Linked DNA regions of Homo sapiens: region 2 is linked to region 1. Evidence: promoter capture Hi-C in human tissues and cell types (Jung and others, 2019). All regions are on one chromosome and are shown on one strand. The core of a region is centred on a gene start or on the middle of the fragment in contact, and the rest is flanking DNA. Distances in the headings are between cores, read along the strand shown. Region 1 holds the start of DNAH5 (dynein axonemal heavy chain 5). Region 2 overlaps DNAH5 (dynein axonemal heavy chain 5).

Region 1 (7,489 bases), core at 3,509-6,008:
TGAAGCTCTTAGAATCACTATCTTCTTTTGTGAGTATAGCTCAAATGATTATGGCATCAATACTATATTATTGGTTCCTTTATTTCCTTTTTATTATGAGTTTTTTCTTTTTATTGTGAGTTTTAAAATTGCAATTGTATAAAGAAAAAGATACTGGATGTTTATTGTCTTGCATATAATCATACTGGCCTTCATGTTTTCAAGATGGAAAGACCAAAAGGAAAAGTAAAGAATTAGAGCTTTATTTACATTTCCTTAGTCATCTAGTCTCCAAAATGTACTTTTTCTAGATTCCTCTGCTTCTGCTTAAGTTATGATGATTCTTTACCCAAGCTGGGAAACATGGAATCCTCTCTGACAATGGTGTCCTTTTCTCTGTTACCGGTTGTCAAGTTCCATTGTTATTTGTGTGTGTTTTTTTTCTTTCTGGTGTGTTCTATCTGTTCTTTCTCATTCCTTCCTCAACCAGGATTTCTCTAGAGGAGTAGCTTAGGGGCAGCAATATATTGGACAGAGACAAGGAGACTTGCCCCTTTTATTCAGCTTGCGAGTTTATTCATTTTTAGGTTGTTTGGGTGACCACAGTTTCCACCTCCCTCTATTGAATTCTTTATTTCTTCATGCCCAGGAGACTGCCTTCAGTCTCTCTCTACTTCATCCTTACCGGCGTGCAGCTATAATACCAGCATAACCTTCCTAAACAAGACTTTCATTAATTCAGTGACTCCTTAATTGCCTGCAAGGCCCACTACCTTAGATTGACGCCCACCATTCAGCCTCAACATACCTTTCAGAGATTAATCAATCATTTTTACTTAAAATTGCAGCACAAGACGGGCTCTGTTGAATTCCAGTCTCCAAGATAATTTTTCACATATGTTACACTCTAGTTTTCCTATCTACTAATTTGAATCTTATTCTTCTATAGGGCTTGCCTTAAATTCTCCCTTCTCCAAAAGTTTCCTTTGATCATTAGAACTCACAAAACTGTATTCATCTGACCTAATCCATTATCAGATGAAACACATTACTGTGTCATTAACCACCAAGAAGGAAAAACACCTGTCCATTAAACTAGGCTTCATTGCTTTCTTAGAATTTCAATTTTATTTTAATTGAAGCTCTTTTAAACATCACCCCCATGCATCCATACAAAGATAAGTGCAATGAATTAGTTAAGAAACTTCTAAAACTTCTTCACATGTAGGGTCTGACTCTTCTGGGATTTTCTTCCAATCTACTAACATCCTTCCTGCAAGTTGCAGTGCTGGTGTTTTCTGGATCTTCCCAGAAGGTGACAGTGAAGATTTCTAGAAAACAACCGGGACACACATTTCTTCCTCACATGGAGCTTCTGTGGTTTGTTGGCTGTAACTTCCTGGTATTGTTGTGGCCTTGTGGTGCCACTTGGGTGACAGCTGGGTGTGCACAAGCTCTGGTAAGGACACTCATGTCATGATTTTTGTCTGGCCAACAGCAATTATAAGAGGGCATTGAATATAAGATGAAATATCATGTTGCATTTGGAATGACCACATTTCAATATGGTAAAGCGTGAAGACAAATGTGCAGCGCTTGATGGGTGAAATATGGAACTCTCTCATCCCACTGAACTCATTTGCCATTTTTATATGCTGTAGTTTGTATCATTGTTTACAAGGCTATTAAACTGATGAATGTGTTTGATCCTGTTGGGCCTCAGTAAGACATTCTTAAAGATGGAAATCCATGAAAAACGTGTAGCTAGTAACTGATAAAACTTGGATCCACTCTTTTGCTAGGACATACTCAGAAATTGAGAGCAAAATTTTCAACCAGCTCTCGACTGAAATGTGTGGGTTAGGTTAAGATTTAGGAATTCGTCCTCTCCATTGATATTGCCATAAATGGTAGTCATAACTCTTTTGCAGATAAAAAATGTGGTTATATATTTCATTTATTAGGTGCCTATGAGGATCTAGGAGATTTAAATATATTTAAATCATTACCAGTTTTAGGTAAGTGGTTTTATTTCTAACGTCTAATTTAGGAGACAAAATATCTGATGTCACATAGCTGGGATTTAAGTTCAGGTCTGTCTGACCCCAAAGTTGCACTTTTCTATTAAGCCATATGGAACGGGATGTACATACGAGGCTTCAAGATGCAGGGTAGATGACTCCATAATTTAGAGATGAGTTTAGAAAATTTTACACTTTGGAATGTAAGCGTAAAGGTAACAATTCAGAACATATGTCCACATAAAGCTTATACCTTATTTTCTTTTAAAATGACACTTATCAAAATTTGTAACATTTTACTTGTCATTATACATTTATTTATATATTTGCTTAATATCTACCCCCAGTAAAGGCAAGAATAACCATTTTTTATTGATTATGAAATGTACATTTTTCATATTTTAACATCTGTGAAATCAGAATGCACCTTAAAATGGATATGTTGAATAGGCAGCATTATTTTTTCATTCCGAGTGTTGCATAGGATAATTATGCATTCTACAATTAATATTTTTAAATGTCTGAGTAAACATCTGTTTTTATTAGCTGTTCTATTCATAGTGTATAGCGCAGCGTCTGGCTGCGTAAAAGGCACTCACGAGCTTTTGTTCAATGAATGAAAGTGGAACTTCAAACTTTGCCTGCAGGTACTTGGATTTCTGGATGAAGCCTTCCGCCCACATGAGGTCCATTGTCTACTCTTGTTTTCCCATTATGTCTGACAGGATTTGTGTATGACCAATATTTTCAGCCTGGAAGGGTGTACTATCCGCACAGACGGGGCTGCAGACCTCCCTCGTGTGAGTCCTATATATAGAGCCCTGCCAGCTGAAGCTCTTGCCTGGTGGAAACTATTTGTAGGCAAGCCTTTCTGAGTTTCCTACCGAACAATGTTTGATCATTTCCCTCCAAATGCCAGAAATTGACTTTCATTCTGGCAGGGGCTGGCGGGGGTAGGTGGCCTGTTGTAAATTCAGCCTTGGCTTGCTTTGTTTGTGTTGTTCAACAACTTCCAGTGAGCCTGAGCGCTCAAGAAGATACCTTAAGACGCCATCTACCTTGCCCGAGGGGTTGAAATTCAGCCACACAGACTGGAAGGCTTCCCGGTTTGCTGTGAAGCCTCAAGGGAGTCATGGTTATGCCTGCCAAACACAAAATGCATGCCATCAGCCATCTGTGGAAATCTTCCCAGGAAGTAACTCTCCCCAAGCGATGCGTTGTAAATGGGCTGCTGCTGCAATGAGGATGGTGCCTAAAATACCATTAGGGAAGCACCGATTCAAATGTAACTAATGAAAGATAATCGGCGATGTAATGAATTGTAACATGTTTGTCCTGAGGTCATGTGTTGACAGAGGATTCTTGGGATGGATAGGAGATGCCATGTGAGGAGGATCCGATCCTACTGCTATTTTCTGGTGTCTTCAGCACCACACAGAGAAGGGACTCAGAGTCTAGATACTGTCTTCAACACTTTTTATTAGAAACGGACAACAGCCGCTTACCAACAACCAGAGGTTGACTTCAACAAATATCCTGCAGGGCCTGGCCTGGTGGCTCATGCGTATAATCCCAGCACTTTGGGAGGCCGAGGTGGGCAATTGCTTGAGGCCAGGAGTTTGAGACCAGCCTGGGCAATGTGGCCAAACCTGTTTCTACAAAAAATACAAAAATTAGCCGCGTGTTGTGACACTTGCCTGTAGTCCCAGTTACTAGGAAGGCTGAGGTGGGAGGATCACCTGAGCCTGGGAGGTTGAGGCTGTGGTGAGTGGTGGTCACGCAACTGCACTCCAGCCTGTGTGACAGAGTGAGACCTGCAGGTCTCAAAAAAGAAAAAAAAAATCCTGCAAACAAACTTAAACTTCCTGTGTTCTAGTTATTTACTTACCAAATAATATTGAGGTCTAAATGTTGTCTGTTAACCTGACATATGGAGGCCGTCCGTGCCCTAGCATTGGATATGGACCAAGTGAATCTCCATGTTCTGAAACCATGTCAGCACCCTGCCTTCCAAGTCAGGCTCCACAGAGGTTGACTAGCAGGATGTTACCAGGATGAGTTCCCAATTTCCTGATTATCCTTGGATGACCTTTTAGGATTTGAGTTGCTGGACTGTGAATTCCAAGGACTAAATTCTAGATTCAACAAGACCAACCTTAAGTGTCCTGCCTTTTATTCAACTCGATGGGAGAAACCATACATGAGAGATCTCTCAAAGCATTTGGCAGTGTTTTCCCATTACATCTTCACAGTTAAGATGATCAAGATGTTTAGCCACATAGGATAAATTACCTTGGCTGAAGTGTATGTGCAACTGTGTGAGCACAAGTAATTTATGGACATGGTTTGCTATTTGCATATGAAACAGACTTCTTGTTCTTTGTGGTGGAGAAAATGGCTCCTATGGGTCACAATTAGCCTATCTGGCAATTAGTCACAATTAGTCACAATGCTGGCAGTGCATCGTGCTTGCAAAGTTGTTTACACAAAGTAAGACTGAGTTTCTCGACATGGACAATATATTCAGAGCTGTGGCTTCTTGGATTTCTAATCTGATATGGTTTAAAGTTTCTCATTGTTCAAAGAAACTATTTAGATATCACTGTTGACTCAATGCTTATTATTGGGCAGTGAATAGAATTAATTGAACAACAGAAGGAGTTGTGTTGCTACCGAGCAGTTAAAATGCTTTGATTGCTTGATAAACATGATTAAGAGGCATGGTTCAACTGTATAGTGTATAAACAATATTACCCTAACAACACCAGGCTTCGAGAGAGAGGAGAGGCCCAGGGCAGACACTCTAGGAGAAAAACTTGAGTGGTATAAGTGGAGTTTTAATTTTTATTCTGTGAATGTAGTGAATAATACATGCAAATTAGAAACGTGAAAGTAAAATGGAAGTAAAACTTTCCATTTGGAAGCCTGTTGGATGTTGAGCAGGTCTGCCAGGAGTTAGAAGACCATTCCGGAAGAGCTGACTCCAGCCTGTCCATGCACGGCTACAATGTTTAGGATTGGGAGGAGACAGCTCTGGAAGCATAGCGTCACTCGAGTTTTAACGGTAAGGTGCTGTTGTCTGTACCTTTGCATGTGTGTTTTGGATTATCATCTGTCACACCTGGGTGGAAAAAACAAACTTGAAAAAGGTTCAAAGTCACACACTGATGAATTTGCGAGAAACACATTTTTTAACTAATGTTCACCTGGTGCATAGGCTACATATTCATTTTTTAAATAAAAAAAATTTTGCATCTGTAGGCTTTTCTGCACGTTGCCGCTTAAACTACGCACCTAGAAATTCATGCTGCATCTTTTGGGAAGATGCTTTCCTGGGGTCAAAAACACATTCATAGTGGTTTGGGCACTTTGTATTCTTTCAAACCTGTAAACTTTAGTTGGTGATTAGAAATAGTTAAGGCAGATTCTAGGCTGCAAGGTTTAGGCTTTGAAATCACTCCCCTGTTCTATATGCCTGCAAATGAGGTCACAGACAGTGAGATGCAAGGCTGTGCCTTTGGAAATCACATTGAAGAATGAACTTCCCTAGCACAGGGCTCAGCTCAGCAGCTTTTTATTATGCAAATGCATAGAGAGGGATTTGGAAACCTCTTCCACTGCCAATTAACGTCAGAAGAAATTGGAGGTTTCTCTAGGACTCAGTTCTCAACCATTAACCCATGCTTCCTACTGGGCTTGATCACTGTGTCTTTTTGTGTATCCCCAGAAGCTCACATGATCCCCCCTAGCCTGTTGTTTTTACCACAAAAGAGCAGGCATCTACCTCTGAATTTTTTAAGTATGCCACCATCTGCCACCCCTCACTTGCCCAAGCCACAAGATTCTGATGCATCCTTCCCAAGGTGAACGTCTTGCAGCCAAGCCCCTGAACTTGCTTGCTAGAGTTAGAAGACCATTCTGGAAGAGCTGACTCCAGCCAGTCCATGCACTGCTTATTCTTCAAGACCAAGTGCTAGTGTTACCTCCTCTGAGAAGCGTCCCCTGACACTTTGAGGAGGAGGTGTGAGTTTCCTTCCTGTACCCTGTCAGCACTTTCCTTCGATGTCTTATAGAGTCCTTGTCACATCACTGTAGTGAAATGACATTTACCCACATGTCTCTTTCTCTTGCTAGATTGCGAGTTCTCTCCATTTTAAAATAATCTTCCTTTAACACAGAGCTTGGTCCATAGTATATGCTTGGTCCTTAATATATGCTTGTGGAATAAGTTGAATGAATTAAACATTTCACATGTCTGAACATTTTTCCTGTGCTTCAGTACCAAGTCTGAAACACCACAATTGATGATAAAATCTCAGGTATAATTAATGAATTATTCTTCCTTGACATGAACTATGTTTTGAGAGTAAGTCAAGTCTTTTGGAGGTTTCAATTATATATTTAGGATGCTGGTTTGGTTCACTCCACTGAAGTATAATATTAACAGAATTACCTTAATAGTATTGCAGTGTATTATGTAAATAATTACACAGTTTCTACTTAGTGCACTGTGTTAAAGAAAAAAAATTATTCAGTGACACTTGGTAAAGCATGGTAAAGTAAGACTTTATTCACGACCGTCGTGTTAGGTATAAGGACCTATCTGGGGAGTGATGGGAGAGATTGGGCTCAACTGTGAATATGGCATGGCCAAGTGAGGATTTGTAGCCAAGGAGCAGGGCAGGGGTCAGTGGATAGGAAAGTGCTTAGAGGAGACATCAATGGGGAGGGGGATTCTGGCTAAACTGACGACCTACCAGGATTCTTGCTGAAGAAAGGCCAGGGGGATGAGACAGCACGTGGGGGATGGTGGAGGATGAGGAACCCAATCAGCGACTGACGGTGATCAGATATTGAGTACCCTCTACAGGGGTTCTTGTTAACTGACTTAGCAGAGTTCTTTGCTAAAACTAGATTTTACAAGGAAGTGTACAGATGGGCCTAGGAGAAGATTCAGGAACCTGACTAAAGTTTGGCCAAGCAAGGAAAGTTTGTCAACTGATAAGATAGCTTATTATATTATAACTTCATGATCGAAAATGACCAATGGGAAACATTCCAGAGCTACCTAACTATAAGTATGTATGTATTTAACTACAAGTCCATATATATTTAACTAAGTTCCACGCTAAGGTCTGGAACTATTATTGCAATGATGCTATGTTATAATTAGGCTACTGTAATGTAATAATTGACTTTATCCATAAATATCATGCCAGTAACAACCAAATGTACCATAAACAAAGTCAAGCCATATATCTTTTCTCTTGTATAATAAACACACGTTATTTTCATTTAAAAACTTGAAATTATTCTGTATATATTCATTCGCTCATTTGCAAAAATTATGGTCCAGATCTGATGTCTGTCTTTTTTCTGCTTTTCTCAGAGATAAAGAATGCTTAGTACCAAGTTACAGGTGTAAGACGGACATGAATTCCAGACTTGAATTCTGTTTTTCTTTACTTCCCCAAAATGAAACTGAAGTC
Region 2 (7,489 bases), core at 2,531-5,030, 90 kb after region 1:
TGAACAGTGTTGCAATAAACATACGTGTGCATATGTCTTTATAGTAGATTGATTTATAGTCCTTTGGGTATATACACAGTAATGGGATTGCTGGGTCAAGTGGCATTTCTAGTTCTAGCTCCTTGAGGAATCACCACACTGTTTTGGCTTTTGTTGCAATTGCTTTTGGTGTTTTAGTCATTAAGTCTTTGCCCATGCCTATGTCCTGAATGTTATTGCCTAGGTTATCTTCTAGGGTTTTATGGTTTTACGTCTTATGTTTAGATCTTTAATCCACCATGAGTTAATTTTTGTATAAGGTGTAAGGAAGGGGTCCAGTTTCAGTTTTCTGCATATGGCTAGCCAGTTTTCCCAACATCATTTAATAAATAGGGAATCCTTTCCCTATTGCTTGTTTTGTCAGGTTTGTCGAATATCAGATGTTTGTAGATGTGTGGTGTTATTTCTGAAGCTTCTGTTCTGTTCCCTTGGTCTATATATCTGTTTTGGTACCAGTACCATGCTGTTTTGGTTACGGTAGCCTTGAAGTATAGTTTGAAATCAGGTAGCGTGATACCTCCAGCTCTGTTCTTTTTGCTTAGGATTGTCTTGGCTATATGGACTCTTTTTTGTTTCCATATGAAATTTAAAGTAGTTTTTTCTAATTCTTTGAAGAAAGTCAATGGTAGCTTGATGGGAATAGCATTGAATCTATAAATTACTTTGTGCAGTATAGCCATTTTTATGATATTGATTCTTCCTATCCATGAGCATGGAATGTTCTTCCATTTGTTTGTGTCCTCTGTTATTTCCTTGAGCAGTGGTTTGTAGTTCTCCTTGAAGAGGTCCTTCACATCCCTTGTAAATTGGATTCCTAGGTATTTTATTATCTTTGTAGCAATTGTGAATGGGAGTTCACTAACGATTTGGCTCTCTGTTTGTCTATTATTGGTGTGTAGGAATGCTTGTGATTTTTGCACATTGATTTTGTATCCTGAGACTTTGCTGAAGTTGCTTATCAGCTTAAGGAGTTTTGGGGCTGAGACAATGGGGTTTTCTAGATATACAATCATGTCATCTGCAAACAGAGATAATTTGACTTCCTCTTTTCCTATTTGAATACCCTTTATTTCTTTCTCTTGCCTGATTGCCCTGGCCAGAACTACCAATACTATGTTGGATAGGAGTGGTGAGAGAGGGCATCCTTGTCTTGTGTCGGTTTTCAAAAGGAATGCTTCCAGCTTTTGCCTATTCAGTATGATATTGGCTGTGGATTTGTCATAAATCGCTCTTATTATTTTGAGTTGTGTTTCATCAATACTTAGTTTATTGAGAGTTTTTAGCATGAAAGGATGTTCAATTTTATCAAAGGCCTTTTCTGCATCTATTGAGATAATCATGTGGTTTTTTCATTGGTTCTGTTTATGTGAGGTATTATGTTTATTTGCATATGTTGAACCAGCGTTACATCCCAGGGATGAAGCTGACTTGATTGTGGTGGATAACCTTTTTAATGTGCTGTTTGATTCGGTTTGCTTGTATTTTATTGAAGATTTTTGCATTGATGTTCATAAGAGATATTGGCCTAAATTTTCTTTTTTTGTTGTGTCTCTGCCAGGTTTTGGTATGAGGATGATGCTGGCCTCATAAAATGAGTTAGGGAGGAGTCCCTCTTTTTCTATTGTTCGGAATAGTTTTAAGAGGAATGGTACCAGCTGCTCTTTGAACCTCTGGTAGAATTTCTAGAAGAAATTTATCCATTTCTTCTAGATTTTCTAGTTTATTTGTATAGAGGTGTTTATAGTATTCTCTGATGGCAGTTTGTATTTCTGTGGGATCAGTGGCGATATCCCCTTTATCATTTTTTATTGTATCTATTTGATTCTTCTCTCTTTTCTTCTTTAGTAGTCTGGCTAGCAGTCTATCTGTTTTGTTGATCTTTTCAAAAAACCAGCTCCTGGATTCATTGATTTTTTTGAAGGGTTTTTCATGTCTCTATCTCCTTCGGTTCTGCTCTGATCTTAGTTATGTCTTGTCTTCTGCTAGCTTTTGAATTTGTTTGCTCTTGATTCTCTAGTTCTTTTAATTGTGATGTTAGAGTGTTGATTTTAGATCTTTTCCACTTTCTCCTGTGGGCAGTTAGTGCTATAAATTTCCCTCTAAACAGTGCTTTAGCTGTGTCCCAGAAATTCTGGTATACTGTGTCTTTGTTCTCATTGGTTTCAAAGAACTTATTTATTTCTGCCTTAATTTCATTATTTACCCAGTAGGCATTCAGGAGCTGGTTGTTCAGTTTCCATGTAGTTGTGCAATTTTGAGTGAGTTTCTTAATCTTGAGTTCTAATTTGATTGCACTGTGGTCTGAGAGACTGTTTTTTATGATTTGCATTCTTTTGCATTTGCTGAGGAGTGTTTTACTTCCAATTATGTGGTCGATATTAGAATAAGTATGATGTGGTGCTGAGAAGATTGTATATTCTGTTGATTTGGGGTGGAGAGTTCTGTAGATGTCTGTTAGGTCCGCTTGGTCCAGAGCTGAGTTCAAGTCCTGAATATCCTTGTTAATTTTCTGTCACATTGATCTGACTAATATTGAGAGTGGGGTGTTAAAGTCTCCCACTATTGAAGAGTATGGGCATTAAAATGTAAGATTTATGGCCGGGCGCGGTGGCTCACGCCTGTAATCCCAGCACTTTGGGAGGCCGAGGCGGGCGGATCACGAGGTCAGGAGATCGAGACCATCCCGGCTAAAACGGTGAAACCCCGTCTCTACTAAAAATACAAAAAATTAGCCGGGCGTAGTGGCGGGCGCCTGTAGTCCCAGCTACTTGGGAGGCTGAGGCAGGAGAATGGCGTGAACCCGGGAGGCGGAGCTTGCAGTGAGCCGAGATCCCGCCACTGCACTCCAGCCTGGGCGACAGAGCGAGACTCCGTCTCAAAAAAAAAAAAAAAAAAAAAATGTAAGATTTATGATGAAAATCTATGTGGAGTGGTTCTTGTTAGTTTACTTTTCATATTGAGTGATGCATGAGGTAGGTGTTCAGAGTAATATTCTGCATCATAGTGAGAGAGAAGCATTTTTTATTTTACTTAAAATTAAGTTAAATGTAATTAAATTACTAGTGAATCATTTTACTGATTGTACTTTTATGCTATAAAATGCAGTACATTTGAAAATTTTTAGGTTATGTGTAAGCTTAATTTTGTAATTAAACATTTCTTTAACATGTTAAAAAAAGTCTCCCACTATTATTGTGTGGGATTCTAAGTCTCTTTGTAGGTCTCTAAGAACTTGCTTTATGAACCTGGGTGCTCCTGTTTCGGGTGCATATACATTTAGGATAGTTAGCTCTTCTCATTGCGTTGATCCCTTTACCATTATGTAATACCCTTCTTTGTCTTTTTTGATCTTTGTTGGTTTAAAGTCTGTCTTATCAGAGAGTAGGATTGCAACCCCTGCTTTTTCTTTGCTTTCCATTTGCTTGGTAAATATTCCTCTATCCCTTTATTTTGAGCCTATGTGTGTCTTTGCACGTGAGATGGGTCTCCTGAATACAGCACACTGATGGATCTTGACTCTATTAAATTTGCCAGTCTGTGTCTTTTAATTGGGGCATTTACCCCGTTTACATTTAAGGTTAATATTGTTATGTATGAATTTGATCCTGTCATTATGATGCTAGCTGGTTATTTTGTCCATTAGTTGATGCAGTTTCTTCATAATATCAATGGTCTTTACATTTTGGTTTGTTTTTGCAGTGGCTGGTTCTGGTTTTTCCTTTCTGTATTTAGTGCTTCCTTCAGGAGCTCTTGTAAGGCAGGCCTGGTGCTGACAAAGTCCCTCATCACTTGCTTGTCTTTAAAGGATTTTATTTCTCCTTCATTTATGAAGCTTAGTTTGGCTGGATATGAAATTCTGGGCTGAAAATTCTTTTAAGAATGTTGAATATTGGCCCCCACTCTCTTATGGCTTGTAGGGTTTCTGCAGAGAGATCCACTGTTAGTCTAATGGGCTTCCCTTTGTGGGTAACCCGACATTTCTCTCTGGCTGCCTTTAATATTTTTTCCTTCATTTCAACCTTGGTGAATCTGATGATTATGTGTTTTGGGGTTGCTCTTCTTGAGGAGAATCTTCATGGTGTTCTCTGTATTTCCTGAATTTGAATGTTGGCCTGTCTTGCTTGGTTGGGGAAGTTCTCCTGGATAATATCCTGAAGAGTGTTTTCTAACTTGGATCCATTCTCCCCATCACTTTTAGGTACATCGATCAAATGTAGGTTTGGTCTTTTCACATAGTCTCATATTTCTTGGAGGCTTTGTTCATTCCTTTTCATTATTTTTTCTCTAATCTTGTCTTCACGCTTTATTTCATTACATTGATCTTCAATCTCTGATATCCTTTCTTCTGCTTGATCAATTTGGGTATTGATACTTCTGTATGCTTCACGAAATTCTTGTGCTGTGTTTTTCAGTTCCATCAGGTCATTTATGTTCTTCTCTAAATTGGTTATTCTAGTTAGCAATTTCTCTAACCTTTTATCAAGGTTCTCAGCTTCCTTATATTGGGTTAGAACATGCTCCTTTAGCTTGGAGGAGTTTGTTATTACCCACCTTCTGAAGCCTACTTCTGTCAATTCGTCAAACTCATTCTCTGTCCAGTTTTGTTCCCTTGCTGGCGAGGAGTTGTTATCCTTTGGAGGAGAAGAGGCATTCTGGTTTTTGGAATTTTCAGTCTTTTTGTGCTGGTTTTTCCTCATCTTCGTGTATTTATCTACCATTGGTCTTTGCTGTTGGTGACCTTCGGATGGAGTTTTTGTGTGGTCGTCCTTTTAGTTGATGGTGATGCTATTGCTTCCTGTTTGTTAGTGTTCCTCTAACAGACAGGCCCGTCTTCTGCAGGTCTTCTGGAGTTTGCTGGGGTTCCAATCCAGACCCTGTTTGCCTGGGTATCACCAGCGGAGGCTGCAGAACAGCAAAGATTGCTGCCTGCTCCTTCCTCTGGAAGCTTTGTCTGAGAGGGGCACCTGCCAGATGTCAGCTGAAGCTCTCCTGTATGAGGTGTCTGTTGGCCCCTGCTGGGAAGTGTCTCCCTGTCAGGAAGCACGGGGTCAGGGACCCACTTGAGGAGGCAGTCTGTCCCTTAGCAGAGCTCGAGCCCTGTGCTGGGAGATCTGCTGCTCTCTTCAGAGCTGGCAGGCAGGAATGTTTAAGTCTTCTGACGCTGTACCCCACAGCTGCCCCTTCCCCCAGGCGCTCTGTCCCAGGGAGATGAGAGTTTTATCTATAAGCCTTGACTGAGGCTGCTGCCTTTTTTTCAGAGATGCCCTGCACAGAGAGGAGGAATCTAGAGAGGCAGTCTGGCTACAGCAGCTTTGTGGTGCTGCAGTGGGCTCTGCCCAGTCTGAACTTCTTTGCGGCTTTGTTAACACTGTGAGGGAAAAACCGCCTACTCAAGCCTCAGTAATGGTGGACCCCCCTCCCCCCACCAAGCTGGAGCATTCCCGGTCGACTTCAGACTGCTGTGCTGCCAGTGAGAATTTCAAGCCAGTGGATCTTAGCTTGCTGGGTTCTGTGGGGATGGGATCCACTGAGCAAGACCACCTGGCTACCTGGCTTCAGCCCCCTTTCCAGGGGAGTGAATGGTTCTGCCTCAGTGGCATCCCAGGTGCCACTAGGGTACGAAAAAAAAAATAAACTGGCTGGGCGTGGTGGCTCACGCCTGTAATCCCAGCAATTTGGGAGGCTGAGGTGGGCAGATTACCTGAGGTCGGGAGTTCGAGACCAGCCTGACCAACATGGAGAAACCCCATCTCTACTAAAAATACAAAATTAGCCAGGCATGGTGGCACATGCCTGTAATCCCAGCTTCTCAGGAGGCTGAGGCAGGAGAATCGCTTGAACCTGGGAGGCGGAGGTTGCAGTGAGCTGAGATCACACCGTTGCACTCCAGCCTGGGCAAAAAGAGCGAAACTCCATCACAGAAACAAAAAACAAAAAAAACTGCAGCTAGCTCAGTGTCTACCCAAACGGCCACCGAATTTTGTGCTTGAAACCCAGGCCCTTGTGGGGTAGGCACCTGAGGGAATCTCCTGGTCTGCAGATGGGGAAAGCATAGTATCTGGGCCAGATAGCAGTGTCCCTCACAGCATGGTACCTCATGGCTTCCCTTGGCTCGGGGGAGAGTTCCCCAAACCTTTTCACTTCTCAGGTGAGGCAACGCCCCACCCCGCTTCTACTTGCCCTCCGTGGGCTGCACCCACTGTCTGACCAGTCCCAATGAGATGAGCCAGGTACCTCAGCTGGAAATGCAGAAATAATCTGCCTTCTGTGTTGATCTTGCTGGGAGCTGCAGGGTGGAACTATTCCTATTCGGCCATCTTGCCCAGGATTCCCATGTTTTTCTTTTTAATGGATGAAGAAGAATCTAAAATTGGACTTAGAAATTTTCATGTAGAATATTTAAGGTGCTAGGTGTTGTTTCTTCCTTTCATATTTGATGGTATATACTCATTGGTGACATACAGAAAGCTTTAAAGAAGAAAATGAAAATTTGGGGCCGGGTGCAGTGGCTCATGCTTGTAATCCCAGCACTTTGGGAGGCTGAGGTGGGAAGACTGCTTGAGCCCAGGAGTTCAAGACCAGCCTGGGCAACATGATGAAACCCAGTTTCTACAAAAAATAAAAAAAATTTAGCTAGGCATGGTGGCACATGCCTGTAGTCCCAGATGCTGGAGAGGCTGAGGTAGGAGAATCACTTGAGCCCAGGAAATCAAGGCTGCAGTGAGCTGTGACCGAGCACCTGCACTCTGGCCTGGACAACAGAGTGAGACCTGTCTTAAAAAAGGAAGAAAATTTATATGATTCCTGCCCTCTCAAGATAATCTGTGCATTTTCCATTAAATTTTTTTACAATATTCCAGTTATACTGGAATTAATTTTGTATCTTTATTTTTAAATATTTTTTCTACATAAACAATCCAGTGCTCAATAGAGAAAATATAAAAATAGGAAATGTACTTCATTTAGAGATAACCTGTGAAAAGAAATGTGTGTACTTTCTTTTCATATTTCCTTGAATTGTATTATTACTTTTGTATTCATTTCTTGTTGTAACTTAACATAATGGGAGTACCAAGGTTGAGCTAAGGATGCTTACTTAATACAGGGGATGATATGGCACAGAAAGCCCAATAAGAACTTCAATAAAATGTGTGTGACATTAGGCATATATTGCTTGGATATCTGGACTGGTTAAAGCTCTAGCCTCAGCTGGAGGAATGTGAGATACTGTCTTTGGGATCACAGATGTGTCCAAATCTAAGTGTGCTTTGTTACCTTGTTCTCATAGGAAGCCAAGCGGTTTTCTAACATAGATAAATCTTGGGTGAAGATCATGACTCGGGCACATGAAGTGCCCAGTGTAGTCCAGTGCTGTGTTGGAGATGAGACCCTGGGGCAGCTGTTACCACACTTGCTGGACCAGTTGGAAATATGCCAGAAATCCCTTACT

The links. The method cuts DNA at HindIII sites, captures the fragments that hold promoters and counts their contacts. A contact is called where the count stands out against the background at its distance.
Region 2: a contact is called between a fragment that was not itself captured here and the fragment with the promoter of DNAH5 in region 1, in 2 of the 25 tissues and cell types used here (small bowel and stomach).

What each region holds. Positions count from the first base shown.
Region 1 is chr5:13,941,957-13,949,445 of GRCh38, reverse strand. It overlaps DNAH5 (dynein axonemal heavy chain 5), which reads left to right and starts at 4,758. Exons shown (of 79, transcript NM_001369.3): 1 at 4,758-5,064. The coding sequence starts at 5,008. The HindIII fragment of the contact is 17,200 bases long and covers 407-7,489 here.
Region 2 is chr5:13,850,654-13,858,142 of GRCh38, reverse strand. It overlaps DNAH5 (dynein axonemal heavy chain 5), which reads left to right. Exons shown (of 79, transcript NM_001369.3): 31 at 7,328-7,489. Among named protein-coding and RNA genes, the nearest start is that of DNAH5-AS1, 6.0 kb to the left of the region's middle. The HindIII fragment of the contact is 3,933 bases long and covers 1,814-5,746 here.